Regions from separate parts of the Homo sapiens genome. Here region 2 is linked to region 1. The links are contacts of gene promoters, found by promoter capture Hi-C in human tissues and cell types (Jung and others, 2019). All regions are on one chromosome and are shown on one strand. Each heading gives the region's core, a stretch centred on a gene start or on the middle of the fragment in contact. The rest is flanking DNA. Distances are from core to core; before and after follow the strand shown. Region 1 holds the start of SLC13A4 (solute carrier family 13 member 4). Region 2 has its middle 91 kb from the start of MTPN.

Evidence for each region. Contacts are between HindIII fragments. The study calls those that stand out against the background at their distance.
Region 2: a fragment that was not itself captured here is called in contact with the fragment with the promoter of SLC13A4 in region 1 in 1 of the 25 tissues and cell types used here (dorsolateral prefrontal cortex).

The regions. Positions count from the first base shown.
Region 1 is chr7:135,726,462-135,729,761 of GRCh38, forward strand. SLC13A4 (solute carrier family 13 member 4) reads right to left here and starts at 1,725. Exons shown (of 16, transcript NM_001318192.2): 1 at 937-1,725. The coding sequence starts at 1,035. FAM180A (family with sequence similarity 180 member A) reads right to left here. Exons shown (of 4, transcript NM_205855.4): 4 at 3,131-3,300. The HindIII fragment of the contact is 3,336 bases long and covers 1,695-3,300 here.
Region 2 is chr7:136,066,831-136,069,939 of GRCh38, forward strand. It overlaps a transcript of LOC105375523 not described here. Among named protein-coding and RNA genes, the nearest start is that of MTPN, 91 kb to the left of the region's middle. The HindIII fragment of the contact is 4,318 bases long and covers 1-3,109 here.

The sequences.
Region 1 (3,300 bases), core at 475-2,974:
CCTCCTACAAACGTGATTAACCTGTTTTAGCTTATTTTTCCTAAAGTCTCCAGGGCAGTGCCAGCTGGGGGAAGGGGACAAGCCACAGACAGGAGGAAGAGAACAGCGGAGGGAAGGGAAGGGAAGCAGGTGACCACCAGGAGGGTGTGACAGGCAAGCTGGATGCTGAGCCAGAGCTGAGGTTCCTCTGTTCTCACAAACCAGGTGAAGAATGAGGTCACGGGCTAGAGTTTGGGGGCTCTTATCTCTTTTTTATCGTGTCACTTTTTGTCTGTCCTTCAAGAGGACAGAGAAGAAAACACAGAAGACACAAATAATTCAAGGCCACGTGCATGGGAGCAGGGCAGCCTGCTAAGTTCTGCTTTCATTCCTTCCCTAAACATTCATTCCCTGAAGTTGATAGGCGCCTTCGGGATTAGAGCTTCAACTGTGGTCATCGAAGCCCACCAGGACACGACCACAGACCACGGATTGGCTCCACGGTTCTCTTCCTCCCCCAACCTTCTCCTCAGTGCCACTATTGGGAGCTCTTTCTGTGTCTCCAGGGGCTCTCAGATAACCAGGGTCCCAGGTGAACTCCCGACAAACACAGGTGCACCATGTCGTTTGCATGGGTGTCGCTGGCCCCCGCTGCTGGGGCAGGCTGGCCTGCTGCTTGGTGCAACACCCATCAGTCACTTCTGCCAAGGCCCCTACTCTGTCCTGACCCCGGTGGGGGCCATGGGGTTGGGGGAATGGGACTGGGATAGGAGATGAACATGACAGCTTTTAGGAAGAAGATATCTTGGTTTCCTCTGGAAAAATCCTTCCATTTCTTTAAACCCACCACAAGCCACTTTGAGGGACTGCCTGAGCGCCCCATGTTCCCCTACCGACCTCCCCTCTTTGCCCTCCCACTGACTCCCAGACCCCCGGTGGGCGCAGGTCGGTACTCACGCTGCTGGGGTGGAGGACGGGCAGAGGCAGCAGCAGGAGCGGGACGCAGACGACCAGCAGCAGCTTCCGGACTCGGAGCAGGCCCTGCAGCAGGCCCATCGCGCCTCTGTCCTCTCCAGCTCGTCCTTGGACCCCGCTCTGCCGGCGAAAGGCTTCCTGCCTGGGCACTGCTCTCTATCCAGAAAGACTTCTTAAACCTTTCTTGGCTTCCGAGAGTCCTCCTTCGTCTTGGGGGCAGAACGGGAGGGCAGTTATACCCTCGCTGTTTCTACAAGAGGCTGGGCTCCTGGCCTCCTGCTTTAGGTGGGATTGATGAGCATCGTTTTGTGACCAGCAAAAAGGAACTGGGAAAGGATGATAAACGGGGGCATAGTGGGCCTCCTCTCGGCTTGATTAGTAATAGAGTAACTTCATTCTAGGTGTCAGCAGAAACCCCCTTAATCCTTTAAGCCACACCTTTGCTGCTGCTGCTCGGCCTTGAAGAAATCATTTAAAAGCTTAAAAACATTAAAAACGCTCAGAGCACATTGTGCTCTCCATCAGTTTTCCTCCCTCGGATGACCTATTTTGGGGAGTACCTGTTTCATCTCCCACCTGGGCTCGCTGTTGGTAAGACTCTAGTAGCCCCTTTCCTTAAAACAAGCACCTGAGCTTGTCAGAGTTGCATGCGGACTTCAGGTGGGGCTGCTGGTCGCTCCCAGGACGTGGTACCTTAACTCTGTTCACATGTCTTTCCCTCAAATTGGTTCCCTACTTATAATTTGCCTTGAGCCTGGGCCTGCAAAGCAGAAAAGAAAAGTCCCCAAGACATTCCTTTTTATCAAAGGACAAAACTTGCTGGAGGCCCACCTTTAACTTTCATCCACCAATGGGAAGCCGGGACAGAGACAGTAGCTCCGCCCACTTCTCAAAGCCAATCAGCAAATTGAAAAGAATGAGTCAATTTCTCTCCCCGCGGCCGCTCTTGATTGGTCACAGCGGGGGCCTGCTGATTCCGCAGAACCTAGGCAGCCTGCTAAGCTTATTTTTCAGTTTCTCAAACTTCCTAGGGCTGGAGTGATGACCATCATCGTAAACATAATCTCACGTACCCAAGCACAGCTTTATTGTTTCGGATCATAGGACACAGAGCTTTCGCTGGGAGGGCCACCTGCTGATCTAGACCTTGGGAAGGGAATGTGCCTGGTGGCAGGGAGAAAATGCAACATTACTTCTGGAGAATTTGCCTCAGAGTGTACAAAGTTAAGCCTTTCAGACCTCCCTGCTGGCAAAGATCGTTTGCCTCAGCACCGAGGGGGGAATATAAAGGGTCTAGGCCAGCAGAGGGTATGAGCTCGTGAGAAAGACCCCAGATCTTTTGGGAAGTATAGCTGCCTCCCTGGCAAAGTCTAGATGCCAGTCTCATGCCCAGATGTCAGTGGTCTCTCTGGCTAAAGTAGGTGCTCAAATGCTTCTCTCTGGGGCTCTCCAAAAAGGAAACCGAAGACCTTCTTTGGCTGGTACGAAAGGAGGAGGTGGGAGGGCAGGGAAGAAGTTGACAAGTTCAGGGACAAGGTCTTAGCTGCAGTTGAACTCTGGAATTTCTCCTGTTTACAGATTGGAAGAAGTTGTTAGCTTCTTTTCTCAGAACGGACATGTGGATTTGGGGCAAGGAAGAAAAGCAAAAGCAAAAGCCCAAACATTCTGTAAGTAGTGGTTCTTGGCAACATTACCTTACCTTGATCTGGGAGATGCTGAGCAGAGTCAAAGGGTTATAAAACCCATGTTGTCTTGAATTCACAGAACACAGGAATGGCGTTCGAAGATCTGCAACTATACTACTTGGAAATGATCCCCAGGCTAAAGTGACCAGGGAAGTGACCCAAAAAACAAATTCTTCTTGACTTTTAAGGCAGGTGCAACTGTGGACAGCTGAGGTCCCCTTTGAAATTATCTTGCCATCGTAGGATGGGCTAGGATGACTCAACTCTTTAAATGCATGTTAAAGACTGGCTACTGTATTTACTACATTCTGGCCTCATTTTTTTTTGGTTATGATTTTGAAACTCAGAATGAACAATACCACGTGTGTGATGTTTTGGTCGCAAACATTAAAGACAGCGAATAATTATAAGCAGCTGTGGAAGTCAACATCCACTGTTAAACCCATGAACCATTCCAAATTCCTCGGTGAGATACTCTGAGATAACAAAGATTCCAGTGAGCAACTCAATCATGACATCTTTATTATACCATAGATGAATATTTGTTAAATAAAAATAGGTACAGCAAGTGTACAATAAGACCAGTAGTTCTCCTTCAGAACTCTACCCATTTTTCAGAGGAAGGAAACACTTTTCCAGAATACAATGCTCAAGAAATGTA
Region 2 (3,109 bases), core at 234-2,733, 340 kb after region 1:
CATGGAAGACAATTTTTCCACGCACGGGGTCAGGGGGATTGTTTCAGAGCCATGAGATTCTCATAAGGAGCGCGCAACCTAGATCCCTCGCATGCACATTCTCGCTCCTATGAGAATCGAATGCCACCGCTAATCTGACGGGAGGGAGCCCCGGCGGTAATGTTTGACTGCTGCTCACCTTCTGCTGGGAGGCCCGGTTCCTAACAGGCCACGAACTGGTAGTGGTCCATGGCTTGGGGGTTAGGGACCCCTGCTCTAGAATATTCTCTCTCATTCTTTCCCTCCTACCTTCTCCCCACCCCCTTTCTCTTCCTCTTTCTCATCGTTCTTTCCCCTTTTTCCTTGTTTCTTAAAAGGATGTGGGGCAACTTATAAAAATATATAGCATGTAACAAGATAAAATATAATTAAATATAAGTAGGTCAAGCAATTGAATAAAAGATTGAAAAAAATAAGATGAAGCCAGAGTGAGATTAGTAAACTGAATGAACCAATGGATGTTTTAAAAACTTCTAACATTTTGCTAGGAGTACAGTCTAAATTGAGACCTAAAATTTAGAGTGGCCAACACAGAGTCATGGTCAGTTACACAAAATAGTGTCTGTTCTTTGACGATATCTGTAAGTAGATGAAAAGTCTGATTAATGTATGTCTATAGGGGTTAGTTGAAGGTTAGCACTAGTTACAGGGGTTCCTTTTTTCTTTTTTTCCTGCTTTGGTTTGTTACATATGCAGATGGCTTGAAGTATTTGCTGATAAAAGTATGTTCCCCAGGGCTACTTCTGGACCTGGGTCTTCCAAGCAACTCTGCCTCCTTGCATTTGCAGAAATTTCTATTATTACTATTTCAGGTTGTTTCTAAGCCAGGCAAATTGTTTACTTATCTTTTAATGAGCACTGCCTCAGTCATAAGCATAGCAGAAGGTAGAGGAGAATGACTCCCTCTTAACATGACTTTTCCAAGAGGGAGAATAATTATAGTTCTTAGAAGTAGGAAGAACTCTGGCTATGAAAACTGAAAATTTTTTATTACAACAACATTAAGCCTATTACTGCCATATCCAGTAAGCCTTGAATCTCCCCTCCCTTTAATTGGTAGTTATTTTAGGAGTATAATCGATATGCAGAGTTGATTGTATTTAAGAAAAGTGGATCACAACCTTCAGTTTGATCAATAGCTCCTTTAGAGCTTTTTAAAAAGTCCATATTCCCAGGCTATATATCTAGAGACTCTGAATTAGGAGGTCTAGGTCTAGGAATCGGTATTTTAATAATACTTGATAAAGGATTCTAATAAGTTGTGGGTTAGAAATTTGCTGTTTTAGACCTCATTGTATGACTGACATACCACTTCGAATGCGGAGGAGTCTGCTGAACCAAAGGTTATCCTTTAGTAAACCCAAGTCTAGAAGGTAGGCCAATGGTGGGATTCTGGCCTTATTGAGTCCCCACCGATTTGCAGTATTGTGTTGTATGCAGTCTGTAAGCATCCCAGGTGGTGTGTGCTGGGCTTCCAGATTTGCTTTTCTTCATTGCTGAAGTGAGAGGCCCCGTGGCACCTTGGAAAGCATGTTCAGCCTTGGAGTCTGGAGTCCTGAGCTCAAGTTCTGTCTCTATTATGTATTAATTCTGTAATTGGAAACAAGTCAAGTAGCATTTCTGAGTTTGCTTGCTTTTATAAGGGAGATAAAAGTTACATTTTCTATCTCCTAAGGTTGTTGTGAGGGTTCTGTCATATAACCCATGAAAGTGATTTGTGAACTGTCAAGTGATCTGTATATAGAAAGAATTATTTTTAATGAAATGTTTTCTCATCAGTGAATTGACAGTCTCTTGTTGATAGAGAAACTACAGTCATGTGTGGGTTTTCTGGCTTGTCATTTCACAGCCAGCACTGCAGTGGTGGGGTAGTAGAACTATGTAGGAATATCATAGAGGCTGTATCAGGGGTTAGCAGGACCAGAATAGCTAGGGGCACCACAAAATCTCAAGGACTGAGGCAGTTACCTACTGTCTGATCATCCCCAGCTTATAACAACTCCTCCTTCTCTGAGAAATGCAACTGGACACCAGTATATACACCATCTGGGCTGCTTCCTATATATCTAGGGATAGTCCATGACCCAACCTAAACTGAACCAAGCAGATTCTTCAAGAAGAAACTAGTCCTGGGTCATTAAGAGCATTGAATTGAGAATCCACATAGGATCCTGGATGTTTGGAAGGAAGAGTTGAGAGTCAAAGTGTGGATCATTCCTGACAAGAGTTTCTCAAAGGGCATACCTATTCAGAATCTTTTTTTGCCATAAATTGTTGGTAGGCACAGCTTTTCCAGTGATTGAAAAAAATCTAAAATCTATGAACATGTCTTCATGCTGAGAGAAACATTTGCTCTTGTGTTGGTCATTTCCAGTAGCTTCTGAAAATAAGATCGAGGGAAAAAGATACCTGTTTGTGGCTAGTTTTGCTAAGTTCAGGGTCTAATCACCTTAGGAAGCTGTATGATGACCAATCATACCAAGGTTGGAAAGGAGATAGAAGTAGTAGCTATCCTGTCCCAGCTGTATCTCTCATTCCCTGCTGTTTGAGGGAAAATTGGGCCAATGATAGTATATCCCAAACAAATGGAAATAAAACTAAATATCACTAGTTTTATAACTTCGAGGATTCAAAATCCTCAAAGGAGAATTGAGGAGAGCTGATCTTTAGTATTTGCTTTCCTCTTGGTTCTCAGCACCCATTGTTCCCAGGATGCTTTCTGGCTGACTGCATCCTTTCCTTCTCCTCCCTAATCCTGACCCGACCTCTCTTTCAGCACACAGCATCATCCCCGATCAAATTCCACTTCTATTGCCTATTTCAGATTGTTTTTATGAAAGAATAGAGCAATATGATGAAATTAACTTGTACTTCTATTTGCCATCAATTTGAGGTCATTTTAGATTTGGCTCAATACTGTGTTTAAGATGCTATGACCTTCTCTTTTCATTCTATTGCAAGAAACTCAATTGTAAGCTGTGACTAGATACAGGAAAATAATGGATGTCTCTGCTGGCATATGCTCTGTAAAATATGCAGATTCTAAATATTAGTTTGATGTTCTTACTTT